Regions from separate parts of the Homo sapiens genome. Here regions 1, 2 and 4 are each linked to region 3. The links are contacts of gene promoters, found by promoter capture Hi-C in blood cells and fetal thymus (Javierre and others, 2016). All regions are on one chromosome and are shown on one strand. The core of a region is centred on a gene start or on the middle of the fragment in contact, and the rest is flanking DNA. Distances in the headings are between cores, read along the strand shown. Region 1 overlaps NMD3 (NMD3 ribosome export adaptor). Region 2 holds the start of SLC33A1 (solute carrier family 33 member 1). Region 3 holds the start of GFM1 (G elongation factor mitochondrial 1). Region 4 holds the start of SSR3 (signal sequence receptor subunit 3).

Region 1 (3,985 bases), core at 1,409-3,908, 2.6 Mb before region 3:
GTGATCCACCCGCCTCAGCCTCCTCAAGTGCTTGGATTACAGGCGTGAGCCACCAAGCCTGGCCTATGAGTAAACGTTTAGAGTTAGAAAGGGCTTCACATATCACCTAATAAAACCCTTCATTCTGATGAGGAAATTGAGGCCCAGAGATGATAAACAGCTAAGAGTTTCAAACAGCTAGTTTGTGAGGAAGCCAAGACAAACTAAGTCTGTTTAGTTCTTTATCAGTACTTTTCTAACTCCACCAGGCTTTTAATAGCAAATATTTATAAAAGATTAAGCCTCACACTTGCTAAGCTTATACACTGTAAACTCCCTGAAACAGTACACAGTTTCATGTGTTTGTGTATATATATGTATATATACACACACACACATATATATTTTTACATATATACACACACACACACATATATATACATGTATGTAAATATTTTGGGGAAGAGATACAGTTTTCAAATTCTCAAAGGAGTCCATGAACCACCCCTCTAGAGATACACACTCAAAAAGTTAGCGTCTTAATCCATTTTGGAAATAACAGGCATACACTTTTACACTCATTAGGCAGTTTTGTGTTACTCAATGGCCTAATAGATGTAAGTTGTTTATGCTGACAAAGAAAATCAAGAGGAATGAAACATTAACATTCAGAAGAAGTCTTCTTCCTTCAAATCCAATCTTTATTTCAGACCATTCCAGATATAATTTATTGAGCTTCTTTTCCATCAACAATAGTTATTTTAATTACACGTGAATGTTATGAGTTTTTAAAACATATTACTAAATTACTCCAAACATAAGCTTTTTATCATACATGGCTTCTAATAACTAAAGAAAAAAAAACCTCATAATAACAATATGTCCTCAATAATCTGCTCTCACCCTTACAAACATCAACTCCTATTAACTATATACATCAAATCTATTAGATCCTTTAACAGAAGAACAGATTCAAATACATTTACACTATCTTTACCAGATTAGAAGGACACACTAGAAAAGTACACTATAAAATTGCAAATTCTAAAATCTTTGGCGACACCAACAGAAAATTTAAACCTTAATTGCATGCACTTTACTCCATATACCTTCGTGTAATCTCAGCATATCTCGGTGGTTCTCTAAATGTAAATTCCAACTTTAAAAAGAGCAAAATTGTACCGCACTGTACCTTTGACATTGTTTGCAGAACGAAATCGAGACTTGTTTCGGAATACCTTGGCTGATGTCCACTTTACTTCGCAAACAGGCCACACAAATATTGGCAGGATTTGGACTTATCGGAACACCACACTCACAGCACAAGCTTTAATAAATAAAGGATAAATTTTTCACATTAGATTTTTAAAATACACTAAATTTTTTTTTAGATGCCAAACAAACAAAAGCCTTCAAGTTAGGCCACAGCATCTTTGCCCTTTTCAAAAAAATAACAGAAACAAAGCAACCTGGGCCAGCCAGTGGCTCACACCTGTAATTCCAGCACTTTGGGAGGCTGAGGCGGGTAGATCACCTGAGATAAGGAGTTCAAGACCAGCCTCGCCAACATGGTGAAACCCCATCTCTACTAAAAATACAAAAATTAGCCAGGCATGGTGGCGCACGCCTGTAATCCCAGCTACTTGGGAGGCTGAGGCATGCATATCAAACCCAGGAGGTGGAAGTTGCAGTGAGCCAGATCACGCCACTGCACTCCAGCCTGGGTGACAGACCAAGACAATGTCTCAAAAAAAAGAAACAAAAAAAAGAAACAAAGCAATCTTCAAAGATGCAGTAGATAAAGAATAACCCTGTAATACAGGGGCAAAAACACCAAAAATGGCTATAATTCTAAAAATCCTCAATATAAGGCCGATGTCCTAAAGGTTCTAGAAGGTCAGTACTGTCCAACAGAATTTCATGCCACGACAGAAATGTTCTATTCTGGTCTGTACAACAAGGTAGCCACTAGCCACATGTGGCAACTGGGACATGAAAAGTGACTAGTACAACTGAGAAACTCAATTTATTTTTTTAATTCAAATTTACATTTAAATAGCCAGTATGGGTCTAAACAAGTCTTTTTTATTAAAAGCAAATGAAACTATATTGTCACATTAAAACAAATGGAGGTATATTGATGAAGAATACAAATCTTGCACTAATTTTAATTTTAGATACTGAAATATAATTAAAAATGTTAACGTGCTCTTTACCACACCCAACCAACACTATCCATAAAGATAACATTTATTAATAATTTGTATATATCCTTCCAAACATTTTCTATGCAGACACAAACATTCACATTAACTTTTACAAATAAACAGATAAACTTCCCAACCACAAGTGTAATAGCAAACTTGGGAAAAATTTGAGAAGCACTGTTATTCATTATCCCTTGTTGAAAATTGGAAAACCAAGAAAGAATCAATTAACAAGGCAATAGTGTGTCAATGGCAAAAACCAAAAAGAAAATCCTGTATCAAGAATATGTAAGATCAGTTTGTCTCTTTTTAATTCAACCACCTCATCTCTAAATACTAAGTCTTCAAAAATCTATTTATTCAGGGCATACAGAGGACCATAGCTTAGGTGAACAGTATGGTGTCACTACATTAAAAGACTACAGCTGTCTACTTATCTCTAATGAACATTTCTTCAAGTATATCTCTGGACTACACCAATAGAAACTAATATCTAAATCATTTCTAACAGAATCAGACGCCAATATACTCCAAAGGCAATTAAAAAAAAAAAGCATAAGGACTGCTGAAATATAAACATTTACCCATAGCAGAATTTTTTTTTTAACAGTATAGGAAGTCTATCAACATCTAGAGACTCAGTATAAATGACGGAACTATCATAATTCGAGATGTACTGGGGGCAGAAAAAGTCTGAGAACCCCTAATGTAGAACAACATTGTCCAAAATAAAAGTTCAATAATCTTCCATGTCCAATGGTAGCCACTAGCCACATGTGGCAACATGGCTAGTACAAACGAGCAACCAAGTATTTAATTTTATTCCATTTAAATTAATTTAGGAAACTTCCAACTTAAACTGCTTGGGGTTTATGTTGACAGAGTGGAGCCAGCGGTACCACCTGGAAAGAAAGCAGTTCCTGACAGAGCTAACCAGGCTCTTCCAGAAGTGCTGGTTGTCCGGAGGGAAGTATAATGGTCAAACAACCCATTCCAAGAAAGGGTTCTGTGAAGGGCTTTGAGCCCTTAGACAAGTGTCTGTTAAAAGCTACTGATAGAACAAGGAAGATCAGCACTATGCTGAGCTCCAAAGACATTTTCAGATGGCTTATTCAAACCCACTGAGCTAACTGATGGACAAGGGAAGAGTAAAGCATCACAGGGAAGGGGGCCAAATTTCCTGCTTTCACTAACCACTGAATTCCTATTTTTCCTTTGGTTTTTACTTTTGGCCACAAAGCTAGTTTCTCCATAGTTACTGTTTTCCTGTGAGATTAGGGTCATTCTAGACAGAAGGACTACAATGTTTACAGGGTAGTTGTGGTAAGAAGCCAATTTATTTTAGATTTAGCTAATTGGTCTGTGCTGAACGATTCCAGGATTATCGTTTAAAAGTCTCTGTAGTAATCTCTTTGAAGAGCACTGTATCATTAAACCTATTTAACAGCAAAAAAAAAAAAGTTAATTTGAACTTAAATGCAAGAAATTAAAAATTGATAACTAAGATTTAAGATGTTCAAAATTTAAAAATTACTACATTATAATCTCCAATAAAAATCAGGAAGTCATCCGAGCTACTCGGGAGGCTGAGGCAGGGAATTGCTTGAACCCGGGAGGTGGAGGTTGCAGTGAGCCGAGATCACACTACTGCACTCCAGCCTGGGCAACAGAGCGAGATTCCGTCTCAAAAAAAAAAAGTAAGTAAAAAGTAAATTTAAATAGCCACACGTAGCTAATGGCTACATATTGGACAGTGCCGATCTAAAAGGATGTATGGTAAATATTTTAACCCTCTTAGA
Region 2 (3,726 bases), core at 1,008-3,507, 2.8 Mb after region 3:
TTTCCTGGTTTTAATATTGTACTATAATCACGTAAGAGGCAATGATCAGAGGAAGGTGGGTGAAGGGTATATGGGACTCTGCTATATTTGCAATTTCCTGTGAATCTATAATTATTTCAAATTAAAGAAGGGGAAAAAATCAAACACAAGACATACAAACTCATCAAGTATTTCCTTTTTTTTTGGAAAAAAAAAAAACACCTACTGATTGTGAATGGCTTTATTGGCTGCTTCCTTTAACTCCCACAACTCTCTGAAATAGATGTTATGAACTCTATTTTAATTTTCATCAAAATGGAGGCTTAGGTTAAGTAATCTGTCCAAGGCACAACTACTGTTAGAGCCAGGGTTTGAATCCAGCACAATATAAATCCCACTCATGGTTGTTTTGGTTTAATCTTGATTGGACTTAAATGACACCGTTCTTTTCTTTAACACCCAGACTGGAGTGCAATGGCATGATCTCGGCTCACTGCAACCTCCGCCTCCCGGGTTCAAACGATTCTCCAGCCCCAGCCTCCCGAGTATCTGGGACTACAGGCATGAGCCACCACACCCAGCTGATTTTTGTATTTTTAGTAGAGACAGGGTTTCACCATATTGGCCAGGCTTGTCTTGAACCCCTGACCTCAAGTGATCTGCCCGCCTCAGCCTCTCAAAGTGTTGGGATTACAGGTGTGAGCCACCGCGCCCGGCCAACACTGTTCTTTTCTGCAATCTATTCTTCTACTTAACAAAGATTAGAGGACTTTACAGTTGCCTTTTTTTTTTTTTTCCAGACGGAGTCTCACTCTGTCGCCAGGTTGGATTGCAGTGGCACGATCCCGGTTCACTGCAACCTCCGCCTCCCAGGTTCAAGCGAGTCTCCTGTCTCAGCCTCCCAAGTAGCTGGGGCTACAGGCGCGCGCCACCAGGCCGAGCTAATTTTTTGTATTTTTAGTAGAGACGGGGTTTCACCGTGTTGGCCAGGATGGTCTCAATCTCTTGACCTCGTGATCCACCCGCCTCGGCCTCCCAAAGTTCTGGGATTATAGGCGTGAGCCACTGTGCCTAGCCTGCCATTACGTTTGTAATCCCAGCACTTTGGGAGGCCGAGGCAGGCGGATCACGAGGTCAGGAGTTCGAGACCAGCCTGGCCAACATAGTGAAACCCCGTCTCTACTAAAAATACAAAAATTAGCCGGGCGTGGTGGCGCGTGCCTGTAGTCCCAGCTACTCGGGAGGCTGAGGCAGGAGAATCGCTTGAACCCGGGAGGTGGAGGCTGCAGCGAGCCGAGATGGCCCTACTGAACACCAGCCCAGGCGACAGTGTGAGATTCCTCTCAAAAGAAAAAAAAATAATAATCTTTCTGCCAGAGGTGAGAGAGCAGAAAAAAAATTAATCAGATTCTCAAATTCCTGTACGTCTCTTAGTAGAGACGGGTTTCTCCTTGTTGGTCAGGCTGATCTTGAACTCCCAATCTCAGGTGATCCGCCCGCCTCGGCCTTCCAAAGTGCTGGGATTACAGGCGTGAGCCACCGCGCCCGGCCACAAGACGTTTTATTGCAACATAAAAACAGGATGTAACGAGTCTTCCAATCACCAATGTAATTAGAGTTGGTTACCAAGTTTCCCCACGCGTCTTCCACCATGAGGGAGAAACGGACTGCAGACAAACCTAGCACCCCTTGAGCAGTTTAATTCGTACTATAAATATGTAGGCACCGTAAGGACGCGATTCTCCAGTTTGCCAGGCCTTTTTCTATCCTTTTGGGGGCACAAGGCGACCTTGCCTCCTGATTCAAAAACTTCGTAAACGTCAATCCTTCTACCCTTTTCTGGTCAGCCCACGAAAGCAGCAGCATGGCACAACTCCCAGCCTAGAGTTCGGGCACTGCCTGTCGTCAGCATAACGAAGAAACCTACACCCACGAAGACTTCAGACCCCACGTGATTACATCACTCAACCACCAGCGCTGGCCTGGAGGAACCCGCTGTCACGTGACCGCTCGTGCCCAATGACCGAGGCCCACGCTTTCCAGACCGCCACAGTCGCTGTCACAGGGCCTGAGTTTGGGCGGCGCCCCGCCCCGGCCGCACGGTGCGCCGGCGTTAATCCTCCCCGAAGGTTCCGGCAGCCAAGATTGCAGGTTCCCACCAAGCATTGTTTCCGAACTGGGCCACGAGAGCGTGTCCCTGATTGGCTTGCTCTGGAGGCTGGGAAGGGACCTGTTAGAGACTGGGACCACTTCCTGAAGCGCGAGGCAGGAAGTTATATGCTTTTTCTGGAGTCCTGTAGAGAAAGTGCTCTCTGCCGCATTGATAGCAGCGAGAGCTGGAGGTGTTGGGTCGGGAGACCAGCCGTTCGATCCCGCCGCAGGTAGGAGCTGGTTTCCATCCTGGCACCACGGCACACACCTCCAGCCTCGAGCCCGGCGCTGCTGCCCGGGGGTCTCCTTCAGGCTCTTTGACGCCGTTCCAGGGGGCACCTATCCAGGCATCCTCTGGGCCTCTAGCCAGAGGACTGGCTCCCGGCTTCAGCACTCCGGGCTGCAGTAAGAAGTGCCCTTATCGCTCTGAGCCCTGCCACCATCCCGTGAACCACCGAAACCCTGGTCCAGCGCGACAGCCTTGGACCTGGGACTGGACGGATCCAAAACGCTCAGCCTCGGCCCCCCACAGACGGGGCTCTGCATCGTCTCTGATATGTCACCCACCATCTCCCACAAGGACAGCAGCCGGCAACGGCGGCCAGGGAATTTCAGTCACTCTCTGGATATGAAGAGCGGTCCCCTGCCGCCAGGCGGTTGGGATGACAGTCATTTGGACTCAGCGGGCCGGGAAGGGGACAGAGAAGCTCTTCTGGGGGATACCGGCACTGGCGACTTCTTAAAAGCCCCACAGAGCTTCCGGGCCGAACTAAGCAGCATTTTGCTACTACTCTTTCTTTACGTGCTTCAGGGTATTCCCCTGGGCTTGGCGGGAAGCATCCCACTCATTTTGCAAAGCAAAAATGTTAGCTATACAGACCAAGCTTTCTTCAGTTTTGTCTTTTGGCCCTTCAGTCTCAAATTACTCTGGGCCCCGTTGGTTGATGCGGTCTACGTTAAGAACTTCGGTCGTCGCAAATCTTGGCTTGTCCCGACACAGTATATACTAGGACTCTTCATGATCTATTTATCCACTCAGGTGGACCGTTTGCTTGGGAATACCGATGACAGAACACCCGACGTGATTGCTCTCACTGTGGCGTTCTTTTTGTTTGAATTCTTGGCCGCCACTCAGGACATTGCCGTCGATGGTTGGGCGTTAACTATGTTATCCAGGGAAAATGTGGGTTATGCTTCTACTTGCAATTCGGTGGGCCAAACAGCGGGTTACTTTTTGGGCAATGTTTTGTTTTTGGCCCTTGAATCTGCCGACTTTTGTAACAAATATTTGCGGTTTCAGCCTCAACCCAGAGGAATCGTTACTCTTTCAGGTAGTGTATTTAAGCTATTATGGTGTTAGGTTTATTTATCCTTTTGAAAGAGTGTGTGACGTTGGAGGGAAGCTCATTAATTTACTGGAAATCATTGTATGGGAGATAACTCAAGGTAAGTTTTCTGTTTCGTCCAAATGAGCTTCTTTGAAATATTAAAGCCAAAATGAATGATATTAGAGCAATCAAATGATCACTATGCGGTTAACAGGGAGAGGCAACCCATCAAATAACACAACCGAGTCCAGGGATTCATGCCACTTGC
Region 3 (4,039 bases), core at 233-2,732:
GAGTTTGAGACCAGCCTGAGCAACAAAGTGAGACCTCTTCTATAAAAAATAAAAATAAAACCAGAACACAGATACTTAACTTAAGCAACTTTCAGATAAGCCTAACTGTCAAAAGTCCGCTGTTACCATTGTTTTAATCTTTCAGGTTTATAAGCTTTATTAAATAATAGCAACAAAACAATTAAAATCTGGTTCTAATTAATCCGGAATCAACCGTGAATATATACCTCATGCATCTTTGCAATTCTGCCAGTGTAGTAAAGGACTCGTTCTGTTAATGTAGTTTTCCCAGAATCAATGTGAGCTGAGATTCCAATATTTCGTATTTTTTCATTAGGAATCACCCCTGATGAAGACCATCGGCAGGCCTTCCAATTAACCTGAAAAAAATACGAGAGCTCAATTCTATGCACCTTTTATAAGAGAGAACAACAGACAATTAAAAGGAGTATGGTGGACATTATTCCTCCAAGAAATCTCACTGGATATGAGATAGCTTGAGAAAGGCACCAGGGGAAACCTTTAAGCCTGGAACTCTTGTAATCAGAGGACAGACTTCAAAACAAGACAGTAAAGACGTATTCTTTTAAAATTAATTAATGAATAAGTTAAATTTAATTAAAATGGGAGACACTTTTTACTGCAGATTTGAAAATACACACTGGGGCAGATAAAATCACAAAGACAGCTCCAAAAAATACTTTAATAGAAAATACAAATTTTAGCTTAAATTTAACTTAATTTTTTTCCCTTTCTCCTTTATTGTAGTTCACAGATGACAAATATGTTTGAGAACTTATATGCTCTATGCAGTGATGCTAGTAGCTCCAAGACAGCCCCCAAAGATTTCCAATTCCCTCCAAACAAAAACAATTCATGAAGCTTGTTTTAACTTTACTCTGGTGGCAGGGGATGGGGATCCCTATTAGATGGAATGAAGATACAATATAAACCTTTCCCTATAGGACTGCACATCCAAAATGCACAATTATTCACGGGAAAAGAGAGGCAAAAAAAAAAAAAAAAAACCTTAGAAAAGGTGGATAAAATATCAAAGTATCTGAGTGACAGACACTTTTAGTTGATTAAACCCTAGGGATACCAGAGAGCGAAACAAACGAGCTAACGAGCTAATGTGCAGGCACCGAGGTGCTTTTCAGCACTGACGAGCGACTGCCAGTATTCGGAGCTGTCAGTCATGAGGACCCAGGGGGTGTCACGGCCTTCCATTGCCCAGAAGGGATCACAAGGTTCCGGGAATGGTCCCGATTTAGCCTCTCTATGCTCCGGTACCTGCTTCCTCTGCCAGCCTAGGGAGGCGGGGGCCCTTCCGCGCCCCAGAGCCGCGACGGCTGCAGCTCCCAGGAGTCTCATGGCAAGCGCAGAGCACGCGTCAAAGTCCCGTGGCGCCGGGTGGGTTCAGCTGCCGGTAACGCACCGGGAAGCGGTCAAAGTCACGCCGGCAGCCAATGTTGTAAGAGCACTTCCGGGGCAAAGGACGCGAGGAAAAAGAGAGTGAGGAAAAGAAAGAAGAGCAACTGGATTGGAGGCGGAGCAGTGCCTACGCTGCTCGCGCGCCGTCTGCCGACTTGGAAGAGAAAGTGCAATCGCTTTGCGGAGCTAAAGAAGTGTTTGCTCCCAGTAAGACGGCATAGGTATATGGGTGAGGGAAGGGAGTCCTTTTGTCTTCGTCTTCTTTTTTAAATATTACCTCTGTATGAAGATACAGAATTTAAACATGGTTGTTAGGCCTATAAAGCAATGTGGAGAAATGTATATAACAATTTAAGTAGAAAAGAGCAAAATTGTCTATTACAAATATTAATAGGTATATATATGACATGGCCTGAAAAAGAACGTGGACAAATTATAGTGAATGAACTATCAATTACAATTACAAATACTTTTCCTCATGTCAAAATGTTATTTGTTATTGTTCGATGTCAGACATTTCATGTCCTGTCCATGTGGAAGACTGCATCCTTGACCATTCTGCTTGGATGTGTTAAGAGGCATGTTGAACCTAACAGGTCCAAAACTGAGCTTCGGATCTTCTTCCCCAAACCTTCCACAGTCTTATCCATCTCATAAATGTAAACTTTAGTGATTCTAGCCAAAAATATTAGTCGCTTTGACACCATGCTGTGACATCTCCGGTCTAATCAGTCAGCATATCCTGTAAGCTCTACTTTCAAAAAGACATCCAGGGCCGGACGCGGTGGCTCACACCTGTAGTCCCAGCACTTTGGAAGGCCGAGGCGGGCAGATCACGAGGTCATGAGATGGAGACCATCCTGGCTAACACAGTGAAACCCCGTCTCTACTAAAAATACAAAAAAAAATTAGCCGGGCGCGGTGGCGGGCGCCTGTAGTCCCAGCTACTCGGGAGGCTGAGGCAGGAGAATGGTGTGAACCCAGGAGGCGGAGCTTGCAGTGAGCCGAGATCACGCCACTGCACTCCACCCTGGGTGACAGAGCGAGTCTCAAAAAAAAAAAAAAAAAAAGAAAATCCAGAACTTACTTCTCCCCACCTCTCAGTACTGCCGTTTCTGGAGGGAACTATTGTAATAGCCTTGTAACCGATCTCACTGCTTCTATCCTTGCTGTTGTCAGTGGGCCGGTTCAGGTGCTTGACTTCACCACACAAAAGAATTTGAAAGCAAGTACAAAGTAAGAGTAGGCAAAAAAGTTTATTGTAAACCAAAAGTACACTCTGAGAGGCAGAGTGGGCTGCTCAGAAGAGAGACAGACAGCCTTTAGTATCTCTAGGGAATTCCCTTTATGGGTGAGGCAGGAGAACAGGGTCTAGAGACAGGGAACCGAAGGCCCTGCTGACTTCCTAGAGCTGAACCAAAAGGAAAACCCCACCTCTCCATGCCCAAGTAACAAAAGGATCGGAGGCTACTCCCAATGCACTGCATTGCAGATGAAAAAATGGAAAGTACCTCTGACTGGTCCCCTCTGGCAAATAATCAGACTGGTAGCAGGCCAAGTCCTCATGTGTAACTTTGTAACTTCACTTCAGCCTCTGATTGGTCACCTCCTGCAACCAAGCAGGCTGGTTATGGGCCACTCCTTCATTTACATAGGGTGTAACCAATGGGAACGCTCTAGAGGGTATTTAAATCCCAGAAAATTCTGTAACAGGTGCTCTTGAGCTGTGGAGTGTACTTTTGTTTCAACACATCTGTGCCTTCATTGCTCCATTCTTTCATTGCTTTGCTTATGTGTTTTGTCCAATTCTTTGTTCAAACGCCAAGAACCTGTATGACTCATAGTCAAGACCCTTCACTGGTAACATGGGAGCTGTACATATATATTCATAAAATACTGGTAAGGTCAAGTATGCAAAGGTGGACCTGTGGTTGGCACAGGTACTTGGCATCTACATGTTCTAACACAGGAGTCCCCAACCTCTGGGCCAGAGACCAGTATCAGTCCATGGCCTGTTAGGAACCAGGCCACACAGTAGGAGGTAAGCAGTGGGCGAGCGAGTGAAGTTTCATCTGTATTTACACCCTCTCCTTATCACTTGTATTACCACCTGAGCTCTGCCTCCTGTCAGATTAGCAGTGGCATTAGATTCTCATGGGAGTGTGAACCCCCTTGTGAACTATCCATTCAAGGGATCTGGGTTACGCACTCCTTATGAGAATCTAATGCCTGATGACCTGAGGTGGAGCTAAGGTGTGGCCGCTAGGGCTGGGGAACAGCTGCAAATACAGATTAACATTAGCAAAGAGGTTTGACTGCACAGAGACCATAATAAATCAATTGCTTGCAGATTCATATCAAAACCCTGTCAGTGAGTGTCAAGTGACAAAAGCTGCACTGGTGGCAAGCTTTATAGTGGCAAGTGAGTTGATGTATTTCAGTTGTACAGTTGCATCTGATGGCAGGCTTTAAAGTCTTGCGTGGCCCGCCCATTATTTTATTTACCACTTCCGTCCGCGCTTCCTTCCCACACTGAGCACTTGCCTCAGTCACAGTTTTGGTAAGCCCACAACCTAACTCTAGCCAAAACGAGTAAAAAACAAAT
Region 4 (3,973 bases), core at 1,276-3,775, 2.1 Mb after region 3:
TGGAATCAAGTCCATTTGGTTCCTTCAGAGTTAAGCTATGTTGAAATGGGCAAAATATATTGTAGATCTTTGCTTGGGTAGAATTTACTACCCACCTCTCCTTCTGTTTTTTAGCACATTGTGTACCCTGGTTGTCCAGTGTGCCACGGCTATGTGTGCCACGGCTATATATGCCACATACAAGTGATCCTTAGGTCTTGCTGCTTGCTTTTTAAAGGGAACTAGGTAGCTCTGGTGCAAGAAAACACTGCTTCAGTACTCCAAGTGTGCCACCTTCATAATTGTAATTGTTGCCATTACCAAAAATATTCTATCATAAGTATCATTCCCTATCATATTTCTCTAATTTACCCCCACAAAATAATTTGAAATTCATATTTTAGATTATCTTCTGTTTATAGTTACCTTTAGCTTTACAAAATGTATTAATTTTTTTCTGCTAGCTTTTTTTGATTATATCAATTGTAACATTTATATCCACTAAACATTTCAAACTTTTATCTTTCCTATTTTAATTGTTAAAATATTTTTCTCAGGCATAATTTTTTTAAATCTCATCCTTATCATTTCTTCTTTTCTTCTTTTAAAAGAAAGATGATTGTTGTCTCTTTGGATCTTTTAGTTTTCTGATTTTTTTTTTTTTTTTTTTTTGATGGAGTCTTGCTCTGTTGCCAGGCTGGAGTTGGAGTGTAGTGGCGCGATCTTGACTCACTGCAACCTCTGCCTCCCGGGTTTAAGTGATTCTCCTGCCTCAGCCTCCTGAGTAGCTGGGGACTACAGGCGTGCGCCACCATGCCTGGCTAATTTTTGTATTTTTAGTAAAAGCGAGGTTTCACCATGTTGGCCAGGATGGTCTCGGTCTCTTGACCTTGTGATCCACCCACCTTGGTCTCCCAAAGTGCTGGGATTACAGGCATAAGCCACCGCACCCAGCCTCTGATTTTTATCTTTTATCTTCTTTTTATATCCTTAGTTTGTTTATAAATAGGCAGAAGAAAATCTAGTTATAGAGACAGATCCAAAAAGTTTTATTTATGAATTGGTCATAGATGGAGAAGGAAAAAAATAATTAGTGTTGAAACCCACTATTTTAACCAGAACAACAAATGAGTTTAAAAGAATGCAACTTAGTGAGATAGGAAAAACTGGGGGAGGAGTATGTGTAAGAGAAAATAATAATTTCTTCTTCTATCACTACCATGTAATAAAATAAAGAGCATTTTTAACATCAAAAAAGACATAAACCCAGATATTTTTAAATGAATACTTTTGATTTTCTGAAAAATTCACTAGATGGTCTTTTTTTCTTTTTCATTTTGTGGTGAATTAATGAAAACTTCTGGCATTAAGGAACACTTGCGGTAGATAATGGAAGGATTTATATTTCAGGAAAACTCACTCTGGTACCTGTATAGAGAATAGACTGGAAAAGATTGAAGACAAAAGCCCAATTAGGACTAGTAATAGGAAGCTGTGGAGGTAGATTACAATTTGGATACTGTGAGGAAGAAAGATATCTACCAAACGGTTAATAAGGAGGCTGGAGGTTGAGGAAATTGTGCCTAATGCACTAGAGTGTTCTCAGTAATCAAAAGTAGCATTTGCTGGGAGTGATGTGGTTGAATTTTTTTTTGAAGAAAAAATGATAATGTGTTGAGTTAAAAATGGAATCTAGCTGTTTTAATAGACATACTTAATCCTTCTGAGCTTCAGAGAGGGAGTCTTGCCTAGCCAACCTGTTCTTAGTATTATGTTTTATTTAGCATGGCTTTGGAAGCCACAAAACTCTATAGGTCTAGTTGAAATAAAATAAAATAGTAGTAACTTGTATCAGACATATATTAAATATTGCCTTCATCAATGAGATCATGAGTTTCTTAAAAGCAAGAGTCCCATTTTCTTCTTCCTACAGAGGTGGCCTATTGTTTAGTGAAAAGAGCCCACGCCTTGGAGACCCACACCGCAGGTCTACGACCCTCAGGCTCTTCAGCTGCAATGGCGGTAATGATGCGCACGTCATAAGATTCTTCAAGGTATTTAATGAAATAAAGGATGTGTAAAGGAGAAGGGATTTTACATGAGTTAGCTATACCTTTCTCTTCTTTCTTCTTCAACGTACTCAGTCCTGGGTACGCACAGAGGGCACTAATGGCGTGGGGCCAGAAGAGCTTTTAATTTTGGAATTCTGAAGAACTGAGAACTCGTGAGTCTGTCAGCAGCTCTGAAGTGGAATATCAATAAAGTTTTGTTAATTTTTTTTAAAGCACCGACTAAACTACAAATCCCTTCTCTCTCCTCCAGGTGGGTGGGTCACGTGGCTTGTCAGGAATCCGGAAGTCTGGCCCGCTCGCCCAATCACGCCCGGAAGCCTATCTAGTGGCGCCAAGCTGGCCAATCCTGGGGACGCTTGCTCTTCGCCAAACCGGGTCCCGCCTCCGCGCGCCGCGCTGACGGGTCGTTAGCGGATACGGCGGCCGCAGGGGCGGAGTCAAGGGCCTTTGCCCGCCTTGGCGGCCGGCTCTACGTTCCCTGTTCTCGCCTGCAGCTCCGCCATGGCTCCTAAAGGCAGCTCCAAACAGCAGTCTGAGGAGGACCTGCTCCTGCAGGATTTCAGCCGCAATCTCTCGGCCAAGTCCTCCGCGCTCTTCTTCGGAAACGCGTTCATCGTGTCTGCCATCCCCATCTGTGAGTGCTGGGAGCGAGGCGGGTTAGGCAGGCCGCCGGCTAGTCGGGCTGGGCGGGGACGTGGCAGGACCCGGCGAGCAGGGAAGGCGTGGGTGCCGGCCGGGGGTCGGCAATCTCTCCAGCTCCCCTGAGCTCGGGGAGGCACGGAGCCTCTTCTTTGGGCACAGTGTTGTCGCTTGGGATTGTCCTGTGCAGCACTCGGGGAGGTCACTTGTTAAAAGTACGCACGTTCCCGAGCTCCACCCCAGGAGAAGGTGGTTAACTAGTTCTGGGGTGGCGGCCCCGAATCTCTATTTAAACAGACAAACTCAAGCATACTGCCTCTGCCCTTTTCTATACAACTGTTGCTTGCCGTTACGAAATTTTAAACTTATTACTTATTTTGCATAAATTAGTTAGGTGAGAAACCCATGAAGTGACCCACTGAATTATAAGTGCATCTTTACGTGAGCTACTTCACACCATTGCATAATTTTCCTGGTTTTTGCAAAAAGAGAGAGGTTGAAGTGCCAGGGGTTAGGGATCTACCTTATTTATACTTTTTAATAATCCTACTGGACCAATTCTAGAATTCTCACTTGGTTGGGAAACTGCAGACTTGGACAAGGTCGTTTTTAGTAGAGCTCAAGTTTCCAGAACTCCTGTCTTTTGCTGCACTGTTGTTGGGCATTTAAAACTAAATGTATTTTTCTCTTTTGTCCTTATACAACCCAGCGTGCCATTAACGTGATGTGAAGCCATATGATGGCTCACTAATTGGACATAGCACTGCTTGGAGTTCTGATAACAGCCACGTCAGCAAGGAAACTATGGTTTGGGGCTGCACGTGGCATTTTGGAATGGCCTGTGTTTCGCATGCTAGTACCCTGATGAATGAAATTTGAAGTCTGACTTGTGATTACGTTGAGCCAGAGTTTGTTCTCATTTTAGAAGTTGAAATCTCATCTGGACTAGTAATAGGAAGGTGATGTTTTTCAAATGTTCTGAACTGGAAAGCTTGAGACTATACTGTTACTGGTTATCTCGCTTCTGAAGATCCTCAGATACTATTGGATTGCATAACTAATAACCTGGTATTTTACCAGGCTTAGCTATAATTAATTTCGCAGGCTTTTGTTGCGGGGTTGTAATGTTTTGCTTCTTTTTGTACCCTTCCCCCTTTTATTTTAATTCAGGGTTATACTGGCGAATATGGCATATGGATCTTATTCAGTCTGCTGTTTTGTATAGTGTGATGACCCTAGTAAGCACATATTTGGTAGCCTTTGCATACAAGAATGTGAAATTT

The links. Contacts are between HindIII fragments. The CHiCAGO score rates a contact against its expected background, and 5 or more counts as called.
Region 1: a fragment that was not itself captured here is called in contact with the fragment with the promoter of GFM1 in region 3 in 1 of 17 cell types (naive CD8 T cells); the score reaches 7.1 in naive CD8 T cells.
Region 2: a contact is called between the fragment with the promoter of SLC33A1 here and the fragment with the promoter of GFM1 in region 3, in 7 of 17 cell types (naive CD4 T cells, naive CD8 T cells, fetal thymus and 4 more). The highest score is 9.3, in naive CD4 T cells.
Region 4: the fragment with the promoter of SSR3 here is called in contact with the fragment with the promoter of GFM1 in region 3 in 3 of 17 cell types (total CD4 T cells, total CD8 T cells and total B cells); the score reaches 7.4 in total CD4 T cells.

What each region holds. Positions count from the first base shown.
Region 1 is chr3:161,222,251-161,226,235 of GRCh38, reverse strand. NMD3 (NMD3 ribosome export adaptor) reads right to left here. Exons shown (of 16, transcript NM_015938.5): 3 at 1,172-1,306. It also overlaps the pseudogene SRP14P5. Among named protein-coding and RNA genes, the nearest start is that of NMD3, 2.9 kb to the right of the region's middle. The HindIII fragment of the contact is 2,700 bases long and covers 1,309-3,985 here.
Region 2 is chr3:155,852,958-155,856,683 of GRCh38, reverse strand. SLC33A1 (solute carrier family 33 member 1) reads left to right here and starts at 2,257. Exons shown (of 6, transcript NM_004733.4): 1 at 2,257-3,461. The coding sequence starts at 2,687. LOC105374174 (a long non-coding RNA gene) reads right to left here and starts at 1,931. Exons shown (of 3, transcript XR_924607.4): 1 at 1,606-1,931. RefSeq lists enhancers at 1,670-2,229, 2,600-2,669. The HindIII fragment of the contact is 4,607 bases long and covers 1-3,016 here.
Region 3 is chr3:158,641,970-158,646,008 of GRCh38, reverse strand. GFM1 (G elongation factor mitochondrial 1) reads right to left here and starts at 1,482. Exons shown (of 18, transcript NM_024996.7): 1 at 1,294-1,482; 2 at 228-380. The coding sequence starts at 1,374. The HindIII fragment of the contact is 2,960 bases long and covers 885-3,844 here.
Region 4 is chr3:156,553,669-156,557,641 of GRCh38, reverse strand. It overlaps SSR3 (signal sequence receptor subunit 3), which reads left to right and starts at 2,525. Exons shown (of 5, transcript NM_007107.5): 1 at 2,525-2,685; 2 at 3,861-3,973. The coding sequence starts at 2,553. RefSeq lists an enhancer at 2,587-2,666. The HindIII fragment of the contact is 5,682 bases long and covers 1-3,683 here.